Regions from separate parts of the Homo sapiens genome. Here all the other regions are linked to region 4. The links are contacts of gene promoters, found by promoter capture Hi-C in blood cells and fetal thymus (Javierre and others, 2016). All regions are on one chromosome and are shown on one strand. The core of a region is centred on a gene start or on the middle of the fragment in contact, and the rest is flanking DNA. Distances in the headings are between cores, read along the strand shown. Region 1 has its middle 8.8 kb from the start of BACH1-IT2. Region 2 overlaps LOC107985486 (a long non-coding RNA gene). Region 3 overlaps LOC107985486 (a long non-coding RNA gene). Region 4 holds the start of LTN1 (listerin E3 ubiquitin protein ligase 1). Region 5 has its middle 11 kb from the start of BACH1-IT2. Region 6 has its middle 39 kb from the start of BACH1-IT2. Region 7 overlaps BACH1 (BTB domain and CNC homolog 1).

Region 1 (2,700 bases), core at 64-2,563, 370 kb before region 4:
TAACATCTATACAGTAGTGTTCCCCCTTGCTATGAATTAATACGAACAATGGGGGCAATGTTATTATACTTATGACAAGTTTCAATTTACAAATAGGCAGTACACCAGAAGTATGCTTTTAGGTAGGCTGAACTCAAAAGAACGTATTAGTTTAGAAATAAAGATATGCATAGTAGATTAAGTTTTCAGGGTAGACCACAAACCTCTAGTTAAAAGCCATACAGTGGTAGAAATAGTTTAGGTTTTTAATGCCAACTGGTATACATTTTTAGCATTGGACAATCACAAATGGACTTAAGAACATTGCTGTGAGTTAGCTGAGAATGTTAACGATCATTTGGCCTGGTTTTCATTAGAAAATGTAATTCAAATTGCTGTGGCAATGGTTGTGGATGCTTGAAGAAGCTTTGTTTTTGTTTTTGATAGTTGTTGCACTGTCAACCAGAAACATATCTCTATCTCCCCCTTTCTTTACTTCCATCTCCAGTGTAGCATTTAGAATTCTTTGGGTAGCAAGGGAAAGAAAATCCAACCCAAACCAATTCTATAAAGCAAATACATGGGCTCATGTAACAAACTGCACAGGTGCTTCAGGCAAAGCTTGATCCAGAGGCATAAGCACAAGCCCTGGCTCTCTCAGATCTCTGCTCTCTTATTCCTCAAGGTCCACCTAGTGACTTCGCAAAAGGTACTGGCCCTTCTCTCATGAGCACAGCTGCCAGCCTTATATGTTTATATCACACTCAGAATGCCGTCTATCAGTAGGTCCCTGGAGAAGGCAAGAGTTTTTTGTTTTTTGGTTTTTTTCTCAGTAACCCCGGACAATCTCTCCTCACAGCTTTACGGGATTTTAGTACCCATTCTGTACCTATGACTACGGTCAGAGAGACGGGATTGCCTGAATGATTTAATTGTACAGGACTGGGGCTATCAGATATGACTGTGCAGGTTGTGCACTGCACAACTTCAAGTTCACTATACACATTTATGACAATGCAGATGTGTAGTGGTCCGTTCTCATGCTGCTATGAAGAAATACTCGAGATTGGGTAATTTATAAAGCAAAGAGATTTAATTGACTTACAGTTCTGCATGGCTAGGGAGGCCTCGGGAAACTTACAATCATGGTGGAAGGCACCTCTTCTCAGGGCAGCAGGAGAGAGAATGAGTGCAGCAGGGGAAATGCCAGACGCTTATAAAACAATCAGATCTCCTGAGAACTCACTCACTATCACGAGAACAGTGTGAGGGAAACAGCCAGCCTGATTCAATTATCTCCCACCGGCTCCCTCCCATGACACGTGGGGATTATGGGATTACAATTCAAGATGAGATTTGGGTGGGGACACAAAGCCAAACAATATCAAGATGATACCCCTTGGAATTATCTGATGCAGTGACCCTATTTGGGACCCACTTCTAGAGATGGGAGTGGGATCCATATCACCTTAACACGTGGTTTTTGAGTTAGGGAGGCCGTTCTGCGCTGGGTAGAGAGGATATAAAACATGCTTGGGAGGCAGCCCGTAGAAGCCCACTACTGACAGATGGCAAGAAAGTGGCAGGGCCTATGCCCTTTCACACATTCCCTACCATGAAGTAGGAACCCTAGATAATTACAGAGAGAAGAAACCAAAGTAACTTAGAAAACACTTCATTCCACCTTTGAGTCCTAACATGTGAAAGTAAAACACACAAAATACTCATTCTCATCCATGTCATTATTTATGGGTTTCAAAGCATTTTCTGAGTCGGCCCTTCACCTACACAACAGTAGCTCCAGGGGACAGCTGGCAGATAATATTATCCCCATTGGAGACGTGAAGCAAGTCAGGCATCTCCCTGCTCAGGTGGAACCCATCTCCCGCTTACTACAACAGAAACTCCCTGCTTACTTCTGTGCTATGAGAGGGAGATCCTATGGAAAACGATGAGAGAGGGCAGGAAAGTTGAGTGACAGAGAGGCCAGAAGAGAAAGCACAGAAGGAAGAGAAGAGGAGATTCAAGGCAAGGAGAGGAAAGCTTTGGAACAATGGCAGCCACCAACCAAAGGTTCTGTAGTGGTTGACTAGGGCTGCCATAACAATGCACCACAGGCCGTGTGCCTTAAACGACAGAAATGTATTCTCTCACAGTTCTGGAGGCTGGATGTCCAAAATCAAGACATCAGCAGGGTTGGTTCCTTCTGAGGCTGTGAGGGAGACTGTTCCATGGCTCCCTCCTAGCTTCTGGGGATGAAGGTGATCTTTGATGGTCCTTGGCTTGGAGATGCATCACCCAGTCTCTGCCTTCCTCTCCACATGGAGTTCTCCCTGTGTGTGAGCCTGTCTCCAGTCTCCGCATTTTAGAAGGACATCAGTCATACTGGATTAGGATCCACTCTAAAGGTCCACCCTAAAATGACCTCGTTTTTACTTGGTAACAACCCTATCTCCAAATAAGGTCACATTCTGAAGTAGTGGGGGTTAGGATTCTAACACATGAATTTGGGGGGCACACAATTCCCCTCATAACAGGCACTAAGTCTTTAGAGCCGAGCGGAACATGATGTGGCCAACTAGCCACATGTGGCTACTGAGCACTTAAAATCTGGCTAATCTAAATCGAAATGAGCTGTGAGTGTAAAATACACACCAGATTAAAAAAAATGAATGTGCAATATTGCAATAATTTTTATATAGATTACCTGATAAAAATAAT
Region 2 (2,700 bases), core at 139-2,638, 460 kb before region 4:
AGCAACAAAAACAATTCAAACATAAAATCTCATTTTTAAGTTCTTAGCTTTAAATATGCATCAACAGAATGTGAACTGCTATTTTCTCCACATGGGTCTTAAGCACTATACAAAGCATTGGCAGATCAGTATTACAGAAAAGTGGACTTGGTTATTGTCACACTGTCTCTGTCACATCAAAGCTATCTCTCTTTTGCAAGAACCAGTTTTTTTCTGTACTGCACTTTTTCCCCGGCCACTACATGGAATGCTCTGAAGCACTGATCAATTAGGGAAATTGTTTTAATGAGGGAGGTTGATTTTGTCATGTATGCGTTATCTTTCTCTTTTCTTGACCACATTATCCTCTGGGAATCAGAATGCTAAGTTGTTATTGGGAGTCAATAACTGGCTTGAAATTACTCTGAGAAGTTCACCCCTACCAAACTGCTTCATGGCAAATTATTGCTTACCACCTAGCATCTGATACATATATACCAGAGGGCATGCACACATGCATGTATAGGATGGCAATTTGCTGTACTTTAAATTTATTCCTTTCTTCTCACCTTTCTCACATGCCATCAAATCCCCCATTTCCTAGATGGAATGCATCTTTCTAGATGAAAAGAAAAAACTCACTGATGAAATGAGTACTAATTCATTTGCCTCACTGGTCGAAGAAGCCAATTAATATATGAGAAACATCAGCTAGCTTAAAGAAACGTGGAGTGCAGATAAAGACTAAAGAACCACGGAGTCAACCAAGTAAAGTGCCAACTCAAAATGATAGCAAAGAACTAGATATCTAGTATGTGTTCAATAGATGGCTAAGGGTGAGTTTCCTGATATTCTAATTTACTCAGGAGCAATCTGAATTTTCTAAGAGGATATTTATAATAAATTCCTACTGGTAGACTTTAGGCTATTATGTAAGACAGTAAGAGGTTTTTTTTTTTTTTATTTTTGTGCCCATTAAATTGCATCATGTAGTTGATCATTTAACTTTGTCTAAATCCAAGTTTGACCTGTTCGTCTATGTTCCACATAATTGAAAAAAGTACTGGGAGTAAATGAGGGGGATTCTCAGATGTGCTTACTGAGTTATGTTGGTCTGGTAGATGCTGGAATGGAGAGTGAAAGTCTTCAACTTTTTTTGTCATTCTATCGAACCGACAGGATGGAGACAAGAAGTAATACTCACTTTGCAATTAATCACAATCTCATCAGGAAGACTCACCCCCAACCGGTTCATTAAAGGCAAATAGACTTCTTCCAAAGCCTTAGTTTTCCTTTCCATTATCAATCCGGGGAAGAATAAATGAGATTAAAAATGTAAAGCAAAAAGGAAGAACTGAATAAATCAGCCAAAAAATAATAGGATCTTTGGGAGAAAATAGTTTTTTACAAAAACGTTCAGAAAGAGTATAAAATAAATATCTGAGTGTAGAGATCTAAGTACATATACCCACACTGACATTAACACACATGTTCAGCAAACATCAATATTGATTATGCCTCTGGAAACTATTGACTGGTGGGAAAATCAATATATATCTTGATGTTGACCACAACAAAATCAATAATTGCTTCATAATTTACCAAGACTCATGGGATTTAATGAACCAGATAGCTATGAAGTAAAGCAAAATGATTGTACTTTCTCCCCAGCATACTGGATAAAGGATATAATACCAGCATTAGACATTGGTAGCCATACCTTGTGTCACCCCCCTAAACCCCATCTTTATTGAATGAAGCAAGTGAAACATCACCTTTCCCAGAATTGTGGATGACAACTCTGAAATTTGAGCAAGGAGAGAAGAGTAAGAGAAAGAAACCTCAGGGAAGACAACACTCACAAGAAAACTGATTCAGTGTCACAGATGAATGTGGGCATTTGTGCCTGTGAATTAAACAGCAGTCGCCTGCTGATAAATATCATTTATCCACTTTGTTAGGCCCCAGTATTGCATTATATTGATTGTACGTTCAGCCTTTTCTAGTTTTTCACTTATTTCCAGAGATTAATAAATGCAGGTTATTCAAATGCCATGACTATCTAAAATCCAATCCAAAGGGACTTTAGTGGCAGATTTAGAAAAAAAAAAATGCTGGTACTCTTCCTGTCCTTCTTTAGGATCCCCTCAATATTTGCATCTACTTAAGAAAAGCAGAAGTAAAAAGATGGCCAACACTCCGCAGTGCAGACACAATGATTCATCTGCATATTAGGAGCTGGGCCAATACGACCAGTCATTAAAATCTTTCAGTTTAAGTCCAAAACAGAGAAGCTCTATACACTGAACTGTAGGGATGTGTGTATGAATTGCCTGATAAATATGCAGAATGATGTTTCCCAGTGCTCCTAAATGATATTAATAAGTCGAGCTCTGCAAGGAAAAACAGAGGTCAAAGCAACCAACAGAGTAAGCCAAAAATGGGTTCCCATTAGAATAAATTTCTAATAATGAATTTCTCTAGAAAACTGCCAGACTACCTTTATCTAAAACTATAGAAAAAGATCTGGTTCCCATTTTGTAGGGTCTACACAGGGAAATAATAAGTGAACAAATGTGGGCTGAAAGCATAATGGCTAATAATATTTCCCAGAAGAGAAGAAAGAGGTGAGCTGTGTCTTTACAGACATTGCCAATAGGTAAGAGAGGGCACAGAAACTCAAAGAAGCCTTAGATTTACTGAATGTAAGAGAAGGAAGAG
Region 3 (2,700 bases), core at 68-2,567, 450 kb before region 4:
TTTATAGGCATAAGTTATTATTTTTATGGCATTAACATCTATCTCTGTCCTTACAGTTTTTCCATTATTTTTAAGTTGGTAAACCTTCCCCCAAACAGAGATTTGATAGTTTTCTTCTAAACTTTTAAATTTATATGATTTTTTCAAGTCTCTTTTATTCTTGTAGATTTTTGGGGGGTGTATGGTAAGAGGTAAGAATCCAAAGATATCTTTTTTTGTAAACAGATAACCAGTTGTCCCAACACTACTTATTAAATACTACTTTTTTAACCATTAGTTTGTGGTGCCTCCTTTACCATATATTGCAGCTTACCTATCATAGAGTTCATCTGAGCTACCTGGTTCTAGTGATTAGCCTATATCAAGCCCACACTGCTTAAGGAATCCAAGCTTCATAATACTTCTTAATATATGGTACAATTCTCCACCACTTATTAATATTCTATTTTAAGAAAAAAAATATTTTTCTTAATTTTTTTTTTTACAAAGTTTCTCTCAAAAGAATCCCATCTGGACTTTGAATTATAATATTAAAATGATAAATTAATTTGAAAAAAGATAATTTTTTACTATTTAACCCTACCTCCTGATAAAATGTACATCTTTCATTTGCTACAGTTTTACTTTAGGGCATTAGGTAATCTCTTACAGTTTTTAAAAATTTTTTAAATAATTTTTATTCAGGTTATCTTATTTTATTTATTTATTTATTTTGAGACAGTTTCCTTCTGTCACCCAGGCTGGAATGCAATGGTGCGCTGTCACCTCATTGTGACCTCTGCCTCCCAGACTCACGTGATTTTCGTGCTTCAACCTCCCGAGTCACTGGGATTATAGGCATGTGCCTCCATGTCCGGCTAATTTTTGTATTTTTAGTAGAAATGGGGTTTCGTTATGTTGGCCAGGCTGGTCTCAAACTCTTGGCCCCAAGTGATCTGTCCACCTCAGCCTCCCAGAGTGCTGGGGTTACAGGCATGAGCCACTGGGCCTGGCCTATTCAGGTCATTTCTACTAATTGCAGATTTGTGCTATTTATGCACATGGACATTCTATTTTATTATACTATGTAACCTAAGTACTTATAGGGTTATGAAGAAAAGCTAATCAAATATTTTATGTTTAACTTATATTTAGCCTCATTATTTACCCTTTTATAAAATTTAATATTTTTTGTGTTTATTTAAACTTCTAATAATATATCATAATCCATATATAATAAACATACCAATTAAATACATTAATATAATGTAATCCCCATATATTTAAAGTTTTCAATACTGTCACTTAGTTCCTCCCTCCACATATTTATAACCCCTTAAATATGTTTAATATTTCATTGTCTTGACTGGACATTCCAGATTGATAGTTAGATAATCCTGAGGTTACAAGTTAATTGATTTAATGATAATTAAATGTTTAGGTGTTCTTGAAAAACTAGTTCTTTTAAATAAAATCAATGATGAGTTTCCATAAGATGTGAAGTATTCTGGTGTAAAATAAAAGATTCTTTTGTAATTCACAAGCTCCATATTTAAAGAATGCTTAAAATGAAACCCATTTGCGATGTTACATGTAAAATGCCATGTATTGGAACCATGAATGAATTCTCAAAATCTAAAGTACAGTTACAAAGACTTCTCTGAGCACTTGCATTGAATCTAACAGACTGACACATTTTCTATGTGTTAGATGATAAAAATATGCAGTGGGTAGGAGCCTGTGAAAAAATACTCTGGTTAATTTATTATGAATTGTAACATACACAAAATTACCATGGGCAATACCATGTCAAAATTAATTTTAGTAATCTTGACATAAAACCGAATTTGTTTAAAAAAATAAGAGAAAATATTCTGGCAACCCCTCAGTATGGGCCAAAAATGAAGAAAAAAAAAAAGTGAGTGGTGGGAAGACATGTTGAGATAGACCAGAAAGCCAGTATATGTGGTAAACTTGCATTGCTGCCGAAGTCTGCCACTAGAAAATAATTGTAAAGATACAAAAAGTCACAGTAGGGAATTATCTAGCCAGAGAGAAGAATGTGGGGAATACAGACTTAATAAACGGTCTTTGGTGGGATCCAAGAAATCATTTGTAGCAGGATGTTAAAATGTGACCCTTCCTGCCTCATATTTTCACCTGAGACCCTAAATTACCTCCCAAGGATCCTTCGTGTGGCTAAAACCAGTTCTAACAGCCTTTGCCAGTCACCTGCCCCCATCAGAACATGTTAGGAAAAGCTTTTTAAAAAAGATGAAAAGAATATCTTTGAGCAGAAAGCTTTTTTATTATTTGGGCTTAGTTCCTTAGGACTGATCCCCAGGAATGAAATTATTTGTTCAAAGGGAAGAACTATTTGAAAGGAAATCCTCATGAGGAATGTGAAAGGAAAATAAATCTCGGGACCCCAAAATCACTAAGCCAAAGGGAAAAGCCAAGCTGGGAACTGCTTAGGGAAACTTTTTTCCCATTCTATTCCTAAGAAAGATAGCTACTAAGATAAACTCAAAGTCATCCCTCCACTCACTGAGATAAATGCATATCTGATTGCCTCCTTAGGAAAAACTAATCAGAAACTCAAAAGACTGCAAACACTTGTCACTTATATACTTACAACCTGGAAGCCCCCTCCCCACTTAGCATTGTCCTGCCTTTCCAAACCAAACCAATGTACATCTTACACATATTGATTGATGTCTC
Region 4 (2,700 bases), core at 147-2,646:
CCACAGTGGTGGGATTACAGGCATAAGCCACTGCACCTGGCTTTTGTGTGCATTTTAAAATCAGGGTCCAGTCAGGAAAACAGAAATCACATTAGTTATTGAGAAATATTTTAATATGGGAAATTGGTCAAAAGGAATTATAAAAGGTAACAGGTAATCACTGCAGGTAGCAGCTACCATTCCTAGAGCTAGGAAAGGATGGAACAAAAGAAGTGGTTGGAGTCATCAGAACCTAAAAGCTTGAAGGAGGGCCCTGAACACCTTAGTTCAGGCCTATGAAGAATGAAGAGAGGGTGATGGCTGGCTGTTACTGGATCTCTGGAGCACAAAGAAGGGATCCCACGGTGTTGAGGCTCAAACTTCTGAGGAGGTGGCTCAAACATTGGCTATCTCAGGAGCTCAGGGGAGGGGCCGCATGAAAGTAGAATTCAGATCTCTGAGGAGAGCACTGACTGCTGCTGTGATCTCTGAGGGGTGCAATAAGGCTGATTCTGTGATTGTTGGAAAAAGGATAGAGATTAAAACCACCTTTTGGCTAAAGCAATTGCTCCTGCCACGGTAAAATGCAGCTGCTGCTGGCATGATGCTTACAGAATGGAGCAAGTCCCTTCTTCCTCTTGCCTTTGTTTCCCTCTTGTTCGTCCTGTTGGTGGAATCTAGCAGAAGCCCCCCCAGTAACATGGAGTTGAGTATAAAAGGGTGACTGCGTGGACAAGAAACAATAACCAGCACACATTTACTTGTTTCTCTGGTGTGATTCTGAGTCGCACAATCAATGGGTTACAGGATTTGTACATTTCAAATTTTAATAGGGACTCCCACATTATCCTCTTTCCTAAACTGCACGTTAACAGTTTCAATATGAATAAAAGGGGACGGGGAGGGGAGATTTAGAGAGAATAGTGCCTACAGCAGTAATCAAATTTTAACAAGACTTGGGAATACTGTCAAAATGCAGGATCTGATTCAGGAGTTCTGAGGGGCCCGAGTTGGCCTTTTCTAAAAAACGCCCAGGTGATACTGATGATTGCATCATGTTGGAAGTCTAAAACACTCCCATCTTCCCACAGCCTCTACCATAACATTCTAATGCTACCCTTATGTGAAACTGCCCCTCTGATGATTCACGCCAGTTTCCTACCCTCTAAGCAAGGAACAAACCTAGCTTCTGAAAGCGGGGAGGACAGGATTTGGCGCCACGGGTCCAATGCTTGGCTTCCTATTGGCCAGGAATGACATCACTCAGACAGGCGTGGCTTTAGCTGTGACGTCTCCGGTGGCGGATGGTCAGGGACACAGCGGGAGGCGGGAGCGGAAGTGGGGCAGCAAATGGACAGGGTGGGTGGCGGAAAAGGGCCCGGGGGAAGTTATTACAGGGTGTCCTCTTCCGCCGCCAGAAGCCGGAAGTTGTGTCCCGGACGTGTCAACCGGGGTCTGAGTGCTCAGAGTACAGCTGCAACCGCGACCATGGGCGGGAAGAACAAGCAGCGAACTAAAGGGAACCTGAGGGTGAGCGGGGGCTGGCTCGGCCGACCCGGGAGCCTCGCTTCGAGGCGGCTGGCTCCGCCCAGCGCGTTGCTGGAGGGTGTGTGGAGCGCGGCTGTAGGGAGGCGTGTGTTTCCCTGTCGAGTGTGACCTCTCTGTTGTGTGTGCGTCCCTGAGAGCGGTTTGTGTTATCTCTGAGCAGATTGGGGAATCGTGAGAGAAAAGATGTACCATGCCAGAGCTGTCCTCATCCGAGCACACACCCATAATATTCATGAAGAAATGATAATGTGTCAGGTTCACTGGAAGGTGATCTGGCCGAGGTAGCGGGTTGGTTGGGGGAGGGCGGCGCTGGGAAGAAGGAGAGTTGGGAGAATGTTAAAGTGAATCCACTGTGGAGGTTACCGCAGATTGTGCCTCTCCTTTGCTACCTACAGTGGCTTCTCCTAAGCTAAAGCTCTTAGGATGGTATATTTGGTTTCTGGACTGCCTGTTACCCCTTTCCATCTGCAGTCCCATCTTCAGCTCCCTCCTCTTGGCTTACTTCATCCAGCCACACTGATCTCTTCACTGTGCCTTGACTACCTGGCCGGCTCCCAACGCTCTTCAGTTAGGTGGCTCCAAACTTTGCTCTCGACACCTCAGTGAGGTCTCCCATGATCACCCTCTTGGTAGCCCTTCCCCACTCCCATGTTCTTCCTACTTTATTTTACTCCATTGTATTTATGACATTTATTGTCTTGGTTCACTAGGACGTAAGTATTTTGAAAGCAAATGTTTTTATCCTCGGAACCTAGAACAGACTGGCACCTAATAGACGCTCACTAAGTACTTGCTTAAGGACGACCTTAAAGTGGATTCGTGTAAAACTACACGATGAGGGGTTTTGTAATGGTATTTTTTTATGGTGTTAGATTTATTATAGCACAGTCCAATTTTATGAGAATGCTTTTTTTTCCTGTTTCTGATGTAGTTAATTCTAGTGATTTCAATGTCACATTTTCTTAGATCTGTCACTTAATCTGTTTTGGAAGATAATAACAGTATTAACAATTATAGCAACCTGTTGTGTTACTGTGCTAAGCACTTTACTTGCATCTTTTAATGTTTTTTATTTAACAGATTTTCTCAAATGTTTTATATTTGAAAAGTTCTTATGAGGAAAAGTTGCAAGAATATTAGAACGACATCCCATATACTCTTTACCTACATTTA
Region 5 (2,700 bases), core at 63-2,562, 390 kb before region 4:
CTTTTTGAGTGGGAAGAATACAGGTAATTTTCATTTTCCTCTTTATGTGGGGCTTTATTCTCTAAATTTTCTATAATAGGAATATTTTAATACTAAGTACAGTTGTATTTCAAAAATAAACAGGATAGTAGGCAAGCAGTTTTACACTGAGTTTAAGAGCAATCCTATTAAACAACGGGGAGACAAATTTAGCATTCATTACAATGGATTGTCAACTGAAACTCATTGATTCAAATATGTTAAATATTTTAGATATATACAACGTATCAAATCTTTTAGTATATTAATATATAACAGAAATATATATATTAAATGTGTAAGTTCATAATGATATTTTGAAAAATGAAAACCACACTAATCATTTTTGGCTGTTGCTGGACTCATTGCTCTGAAATTGGATAAATAAAGGTACAGAATACAGCATTTACCTTGCCTCTCATTTATGAACTGTGCTTCAGGTTAACCAAATAGATGTGAGGGAAAGTTCTTCTCCACAGAAGAATTCTAATTAAAAAAGAATGATTATTAGAAAAATAATTCGAAAAATGTCATTTTGCAACCCCTGCCGAGACAATGGATTTTGGCAAGAATCATAAATGGTAGTTGATGGGAAAATTGATAATGGGTGAATGATGACATCTAAACCCATCAACTTCAGCATCATGAAAAGTGGGACAAGTAGACATTGGGTGCCTGTTGATTTAAACACTGCCCATAAAATATTTTTGCCCCCTGAAAAAAATAAACCTAAATTTAATTGTGTTTCTTGACTTAACTGCCAGTTAACAAGAAATATGGGGTATATAAACAATACCACAGGATACAATCACATAAGACCAGGATGTGGGAAATTCAACTGGAAAAATGACATATTTTCAACAAATAAATGGCTTGAAAAAAAGGGGGAAGAGAAAGTGTTAAATAATAATAGAGGATTAAGAGATATATCAACCAAAATCAACAAAGGAACTCATACAGCTCCTGATATGAACAAATGTACTATTCAAAATTTTTTTGAGGCCGGGCACGGTGGCTCACGCCTGTAATCCCAGCTCTTCGGGAGGCCAAGGCGAGTGGATCACGAGGTCAGGAGATCGAGACCATCCTGGCTAACACGGTGAAACCCCATCTCTACTAAAAATACAAAAAAATTAGCCAGGTGTGGTGGTGGGCGCCTGTAGTCCCAGCTACTTGGGAGGCTGAGGCAGGAGAATGGCATGAACCCAGGAGGCGGAGCTTGCAGTGAGCCGAGATTGCGCCACTGCACTCCAGCCCGGGCAACAGAGCGAGACTCCATCTCAAAAAAAAAAAAAAAAAAAAAAAAAAAAAAAAAAAAATTGAGACAAGGCAATTTGAACATGGACTGATGATATTTAAAATAATAATTTTGTTAAGTATGGTGATACTATTGTGGTTATATTGTCTTAAAGCCCTTATCTGCTAGAGATTCATATTAAAGTATTTACCAATAAAATTAGTGAAGTCCTGGTCATTTTAGACCAATTGTTCCAGAAGTGACTGTTAACTTCCTAGACTGTTGCCAGTGATAGCATGTGACCCCCTCCAACTCTGACTTAAAGCAGGCTGGTTTCCTGGGCTGTTTGTTGGAAACAAGGGGTTGGTTTTCTGGGCGGGCAGGTGTAAGCTGTTCTATTTTTATATATGCTCTGGTTATTGTCTTTGTATATGTGCCTCTCATTTCCAAATCAATTATCATTTAATGTGCCACTGAACTCTTGGTATAATTCAGATCCAGAATAGGGAGGCTACTTCTATGGAAATGTAGTTCCCACAGCCAGGGGAGGCTTCACACAATTCCACTTGGATGAAGGTCTACATACGTGGAGACGAGCTGAGAAATGGTGGTAAGAAACAAATTGGAGTTAATAGCTGCCAGATAGAGATCAGGCCACAAGGAAACCAAGAGTGGGGACTGACTAAAACACAATTGACAAAATATTGACAATTATTGAGACTGAATTAATGGTACCATCAAGTTTTATTATGCTATTCTCTCTAATTCTGGGTATGTCTAAAAATTTACATAATAAAAAATTTAAAACAGAGTTGAAATGAAAAAGACAATGTACCATCAAAATCTAAGAGAGCGTTAAGACCAGAGACTCATAGAGTTCTTTCAGAGCCTTTCATCACCTGCAATTTTATATATCAATGTGCGCTGATGTTCCATTGGACTGACATTTGCCTGTTTCCAGGATAAGCTCCAGAATATAATTTGAGCCATCCAGCAACTCACGAAGAACTTCTTGCATTTGGCAGAGAAAGAAACAGTTGCTAGACTCACTAAAGTACCCATCCACTTCATTCTTCAAGCAGGTGAATGACTATGATGGGGTTAAAATTCCCAGCTAATTACCTCCCAGCCAGCATTTTAACTGGCTGACTCATACAGATTCCTTAAGATAGAGCAGAAGAACAAGAAAACATAAGCAGTAGCTGTGTGCAGTCAAATGTACAAATATTTAACTAGCTTACTCCACCAGTGCACAGTTTTAATACATAGTCTGAGAGCATAGAATGTAGATACCAGCATTGTATGTGAGGCTGAGACGTGGCAATTTAGCAAACCTTATGGAGTAATTAAACCATCTAGAATTTCAGTTCAGAGAAATCTAAATGGGAGAAGCATCCAGCTGTCAGGAACATGTCGGTTTTTCTTTCTCTCTTCCCTTCATCCTT
Region 6 (2,700 bases), core at 99-2,598, 420 kb before region 4:
GGAATTCAACATATGAATTTTGGGGAAACACAGTTCAACCCATAACAGTATCTCACGCTCAGCTGGGGGCTTGCTAAGCAGTTGCAGCAATTCTTAAGTCCCTAAAGAAGGATACGGTGGAATTGCTCTCTGGAGAGCATGACATGGATAAGCTAGAATTTAGGGGTTTATATGAACATAGAGGCTGGTGCCTGCCTCCCGCCAGAGAATGTAGACAGTGAGAGGCTGGCAGGAGGAAGGAAAGGAGCACCGGAAGCAGCCCACATTTGGAACGGCAACGAACCATGCATTTCCGGTGGGTTCGGTGAACTCCGGAAGGGAGCCAAGCTTGAGCCATCTCGATGGGATGCAGCACACTAGACGGTACCACCGGAGGCTTGGAAAAGGCCAACTGGGTATTGCATCTCTTGACACCCTGTGCAGAGCCCACGTGGAGCACACACAGACCATCTGCACCCCACAAATGAGCCAGCGTTTGGAGGCCCAGCACACATATTATCACCAGCCAAGAGAAACCCATAAATATCATGAACGGAGTAAAAATGCCTTTCCCCCTTTCATGCTAACCCCTGCTTCCCAGTTCTGGAGGAGCCAGCAGCAGGAGTTGGGAAGAGAAGCAAAGGAGAAAGGAATTGCATAAGAAAAGACCACACCTCTTTCCTAGCCTAGATCAGACCTGAGTTGAGGGAAGGTGAGAAGCTCAGAATTGGATCTGAGCCTGAAGTTTTTATTTAGACTGGGCTGTTTAATACCAGACACAGTGACTCTTAACAAAATAGGACTTGTCTAACAAGTCAAAAGGACAAGAAAGCTATGTGATTTTCCTCAGATCTCATTCAGGGATAAGGAAAAGGGATCAAACAGACCACATTTAAATGCAATAGACGATGAAAAATTAAATCGTTCCCTAGTTCTACCCCCGCTCAGTTTAGCTCACTCAATAAACCAACAGCACTTCATGTTCTCACGTACAGATTATGGGGGGAAGAAGATTCTGAACTGGCCCCCTTCCCAGAAATCTCCTAAATTATTTTGTACCCTGTTATCAAATTAATATTCTCTAGACATTACTTCTATCTCATTATTCCTCTGTCCAAAATTCTCCAATGACTCCGTAGCCTAAAGGATAAAGCCCACGGTTTTCTTCTTGCTCCAAAAGACCTTCCCCACCAATGCTCACCTCCAGACAGCTCATGAGTCTTCTTTCCCTAGGAAAACCACATTCCAATCTTAGGGTTTGGGAGGGCCACCTCATGGTTTTCCAGGAGTCTTTTCATCGTGGCCTGGGAGGGTTTGAAATAAAGATTGTACCTCAGTGACATAGGTCAAGGAACCCAAACCATCCTCCTCCTCATTCAACCATAAACAGCCCATATTGGCTTCTGTGTATGAGAAATTGAAGGCTCTCCCTTGTCCCAGCTTCCTTAAAGAGTTCCTTAAAGAGTTCATGTTACCACTAAACAGAGTCCCCCTGTTCTTCTAACTGTCATTTCTCACGTTATGGGATGTACATCAGGGCCTCATCATTATTCTCTTTCATATACCTGGACCTTATTACATAGGAGCTCAAAGTCTAGCTCTTTACATTTCTCTTAATCTTCTTTGATACTAAGTGAGGCAACAACAACAACAAAAAGATAGTATAGGCCATTTTATTTTACTTTATTGAGACAGGGTCTTGTTCTGTTGCCCAGGCTGGGGCAGTGGCTTGATCAAGGTTCAATGAAGCCTCAAATTCCTGGGCTCAAGAGATCCTCCAGCCTCAGCCTCCTGAGTAGCTTGGATGACAGGTGTGTGACACCACATATGACTAATTTATATATATATATATATATATATATATATATATATATATATATATATACACACATACAGACAGTGGTCTCCCTATATTGCCTAGATTGGTCTCAAACTCCTGGGCTCAAGTGATTCTCCCCACTCATCCTCCCAAAGTGCTGAGACTACAGGCATGAGCCACCACGTCTGGCCCATGTAGGTCTTTTTAAATAGCCCTGAGCTTCTCAAGCCCCTACACCCCTCCCAAGTAGGAGAAAGGAAAACCTAAATGATTAAATTTGATCTCCTGAGGCCACATGAAAACGGACCCTCGAAAATTCACTGTACTTAGGAAACTCATGGACAGGTTATCAAACCTCAAGTAGCAAAGTCCCTGTAGAGTTTCCTTGGACTTCTACATTTTCTTGCAACAAATAATACATTTAAAGGTCAATGGATCTCATTCTTTATCAACCAAGAAAATATGTTTGCAGAATCTAAAATCTCATCTAGAGTTAAGATCAACATTTTTTTTTCTTCTGGTCCTTTCATTTATTTCTTTAAAATTGTCTTATCATTACTATGTAAGCTTGTACCTGAATTACAGCTTTTAATAAAGCAATGACACTTTTATTTCTCAGATGCCTGATGACCATATTAACCTCTCCTCATTTGAGTTATTAATTGCACGTTCTGTCCAATCCCTTTGGTGTGGCTTCCAAGGAGACAGTCAGAAGGCTTCTCAGGAAGGGAAGGACATGTTTATTGTTGGCCCTGTGGGAGTGTTTGCATAATTACTGGAATGATTAAAGAGGTCTTTTCTAAAACAGACAAGCATACTAAGTTTTAATATGTTTCATGACAATGCATAAGACAAGAGTGCATGTTGTACCTGATATAGGACCCTGCAGGTCGCCAAAATAA
Region 7 (2,700 bases), core at 1-2,500, 350 kb before region 4:
AACTGATACAACCAATAGTTGGGTGTACACTGAGGTAGGAAATCAAGGGTTCCATTGGCTTAAGATTTTACATTTTGTAAACCAGAAGTTCTTATATTATTTTATATCGTGAAGCTGAAATTTAAAATTACAAGTATCAAAGAAATACCTATATGGAGAGATATATATGTATACATACACATACACACACACACACACACACACACACACACACACAAATTCTTTTGCAGTATGGGATGCACTATCAGAATTATTCTCCCTGACAAATTCTTGAGTGTACTTATAAAAGCTACTAGAAAATAAACAAGTCCAACTAATTTTCTCTTACAAATAAGTCAGTGACAGAGAGAACATACAAACCACTGAAAATATACTAGCAATATCCTCCCCCTACACCCTGATCAAAAAGGGTAACATTTGACAAATTACTCCAAGACATGAAGACTGGTCCCCATATACTCTCAAGGGCAAGGCCAACTTGCTTCAGACTTGTTCATACACAGTGGGTGGTGGCTGCCCACATTAGCTAGACAAGCCCTGCACTAGGCTCAGGATGCAGTCTATAGAAGTGTCTCTTTCAGCCCTCTGATTTTGGTGAAATCAACACTATAAACTACTCCTCTGTACCATTAAAACTGGGTTCTGCCAATGTTTCTGTGAATGTGAATATATGCATTTTTTTTAATTGCTGAGAAGATCCATAGCTTTCATTTGACTCTCAAACACATCTAACCCCAGCATGGCTAAAAGCCACCGCAAAATGTTATGCGATAGGTGCTCAGTTATCTATTTTGTAACAGGACTGAACAAACACTAAGACTGATCTTTAAATGTCCAAGTTAAAATGATTTGTGTGTCTTTATACCACACCAAATTTGGAGAAGAGAGCAAGGATTCAACCTGCTTTTCAAATGCAAACCCACAATAGAAAAAGATTGAGTTTCATCCTATTTCACAAACCTGCAGAGTTGCTGCAGATACATTTTTTATCTGTTACAATCATTTTTACAAGTGAATAATACGACTTCAAAAACAGGGTGAAAAAAATGAACTGCACTCCTGGTAAAAAGTAAGCAACATTCTTTCCCCGTGATGTCTGGTTTTCTGGCATTGGTGACCCACGGTGGAAAAATGAACAGCTTTACATGTTGGTAAGCTCTCCAGATTCTAGGGAGCCTGAGATAATGCTGCCAGTGTAATCACTCATGCCACTGTATTCTGAGTCCTATTTCTTCTTCCAAAGGGACAAAAATGCCAGGAAATAGGAAGTCCATGATGGGACCAGATATGGTAGAGACTGAAGCGGGGGGCAGGGAGGGAAAGTGACACTTAAATCTATTCATGTAGCCAGACTTTCTAGAGTCCATACTGAAGAGGAGAAGCAGCCCCCGTCTTAGGCCAACCACTTGCCTATTTACTAAATCTTCCCAATGTAGCTTAAAGCCTGATTTTAGGAGCCGAAGAACAAAGCCCTAAGATTCAGGTAAGACCATCTTTTTTTCACAATGCAGCTCTACAAAAATATTCCCAGTAGCTGACACCCTGCTTCTAAGAATAGAACTCTATTAGCATTGCTTGGGAAGAAATTTTCTTTCAAACTAAAATATTAGAAAAAAGTCAAATTATTAAACTTCTGCAGGCCACTTCTTTTAGTAGGAACTATCTGTAGATGTTTCAAGCTGTTAAATTGCTGTCTGATATGCTGCAGTTTTCATTCTCCTACTTATTCTGAATAGCAGGAAGAGTTATTACTAGAGTTATTATTCTTTAAAACATGAGTTTTAAAGGTTTACTACATTTTCACATGGATTTTTCTGATATCCAGGAGGCAAAATCATTTCTTTGTCTCTTGTAGAAATCAAGGAGAAATCATGGTTGACTTAAAGGAAATTCCCTTATGGTAAACTACTAAAGGAAAAAAACAGTATTGTTGAGCAACAGATGGTCATATTAGGCTTTCAAGACGCTGCCAAAACTTCAGGAGAAAATTAGATGGTTTGAAGGAAGTGAATGCAAGTTTACTCATCAGTAGTACATTTATCAGTCATCTGCTGACAGAAATCTGAGATCCCACCACTCTGACGACACTGTTCCGCAGGCCCAGCTTGCTCAGAGGTGGCTGTGGACATCTGCTGGGACTCCTGCCCTCGCGCGTAGCCAGGCTCACTGTTTCCTCTGGCACAGGGAGGCAGCACTGCTGGAGGCCGGTCAGATAAACTGAAAATTGATGGTAACGCCAGTTCACCATCAGGAGTACTTTTATCTTTTTCAGAAATTAAAAATGAAAGTGGGCAATCTGCAGCTGAGTACTTGGCGAGTATCTGTATTTGTTCTTGACTCAGAGCTGCTTCTTTACAAACTTTCTGGCAAAGTCCAGTTAGGTTCTGCTTTGTCTCACCCAGAGTTGACAAAATGTGATCTCTTTCCTTCAACAAGCTCTCCTTTTCACTTTGCTGTGAAGTGGGGAAAGAGAACACAATGGCTTGTGTTTATTAGCTCAATCAACATTTCCAAGGCGATCAAATAATATACAGGGGCTTCTCATCAAGTAAGATCACATGGAGTTTATCCTTTCAATTCCATTCAATTATACATTAAATACTAAAGGCCCAGAATCTCCCACCCAAAACTCTTGGGGCAGATGTATTTTGGCACAAAGCATTTTTCAGGTTTTGGAAAGACAGTATGGGTGCACACATA

What was found. The method cuts DNA at HindIII sites, captures the fragments that hold promoters and counts their contacts. A CHiCAGO score of 5 or more calls a contact.
Region 1: a fragment that was not itself captured here is called in contact with the fragment with the promoter of LTN1 in region 4 in 10 of 17 cell types (neutrophils, naive B cells, naive CD8 T cells and 7 more); the score reaches 12.6 in neutrophils.
Region 2: a fragment that was not itself captured here is called in contact with the fragment with the promoter of LTN1 in region 4 in 2 of 17 cell types (naive CD4 T cells and non-activated CD4 T cells); the score reaches 5.3 in naive CD4 T cells.
Region 3: a fragment that was not itself captured here is called in contact with the fragment with the promoter of LTN1 in region 4 in 3 of 17 cell types (naive CD4 T cells, activated CD4 T cells and total CD8 T cells); the score reaches 5.9 in naive CD4 T cells.
Region 5: a fragment that was not itself captured here is called in contact with the fragment with the promoter of LTN1 in region 4 in 4 of 17 cell types (neutrophils, total B cells, monocytes and 1 more); the score reaches 13.1 in neutrophils.
Region 6: a contact is called between a fragment that was not itself captured here and the fragment with the promoter of LTN1 in region 4, in 2 of 17 cell types (neutrophils and naive B cells). The highest score is 11.5, in neutrophils.
Region 7: a fragment that was not itself captured here is called in contact with the fragment with the promoter of LTN1 in region 4 in 6 of 17 cell types (neutrophils, total B cells, total CD4 T cells and 3 more); the score reaches 11.1 in neutrophils.

Annotation. Positions count from the first base shown.
Region 1 is chr21:29,362,401-29,365,100 of GRCh38, reverse strand. No RefSeq gene overlaps it. Among named protein-coding and RNA genes, the nearest start is that of BACH1-IT2, 8.8 kb to the left of the region's middle. The HindIII fragment of the contact is 1,422 bases long and covers 603-2,024 here.
Region 2 is chr21:29,453,204-29,455,903 of GRCh38, reverse strand. The region is part of intron 1 of LOC107985486 (a long non-coding RNA gene); the gene reads right to left. Among named protein-coding and RNA genes, the nearest start is that of BACH1-IT3, 41 kb to the left of the region's middle. The HindIII fragment of the contact is 2,995 bases long and covers 1-2,700 here.
Region 3 is chr21:29,437,126-29,439,825 of GRCh38, reverse strand. The region is part of intron 1 of LOC107985486 (a long non-coding RNA gene); the gene reads right to left. Among named protein-coding and RNA genes, the nearest start is that of BACH1-IT3, 58 kb to the left of the region's middle. The HindIII fragment of the contact is 1,850 bases long and covers 393-2,242 here.
Region 4 is chr21:28,991,573-28,994,272 of GRCh38, reverse strand. It overlaps LTN1 (listerin E3 ubiquitin protein ligase 1), which reads left to right and starts at 1,396. Exons shown (of 30, transcript NM_015565.3): 1 at 1,396-1,509. The coding sequence starts at 1,468. LOC105372766 (a long non-coding RNA gene) reads right to left here and starts at 1,170. Exons shown (of 3, transcript XR_007067835.1): 1 at 1,142-1,170; 2 at 592-703; 3 at 92-491. RefSeq lists enhancers at 1,112-1,171, 1,482-1,591. The HindIII fragment of the contact is 7,723 bases long and covers 242-2,700 here.
Region 5 is chr21:29,381,951-29,384,650 of GRCh38, reverse strand. No RefSeq gene overlaps it. Among named protein-coding and RNA genes, the nearest start is that of BACH1-IT2, 11 kb to the right of the region's middle. The HindIII fragment of the contact is 6,313 bases long and covers 1-2,700 here.
Region 6 is chr21:29,410,105-29,412,804 of GRCh38, reverse strand. No RefSeq gene overlaps it. Among named protein-coding and RNA genes, the nearest start is that of BACH1-IT2, 39 kb to the right of the region's middle. The HindIII fragment of the contact is 2,038 bases long and covers 330-2,367 here.
Region 7 is chr21:29,342,152-29,344,851 of GRCh38, reverse strand. It overlaps BACH1 (BTB domain and CNC homolog 1), which reads right to left. Exons shown (of 5, transcript NM_001186.4): 5 at 1-2,453. The coding sequence ends at 2,019. Among named protein-coding and RNA genes, the nearest start is that of BACH1-IT2, 29 kb to the left of the region's middle. RefSeq lists an enhancer at 1,533-2,700. The HindIII fragment of the contact is 5,760 bases long and covers 1-2,700 here.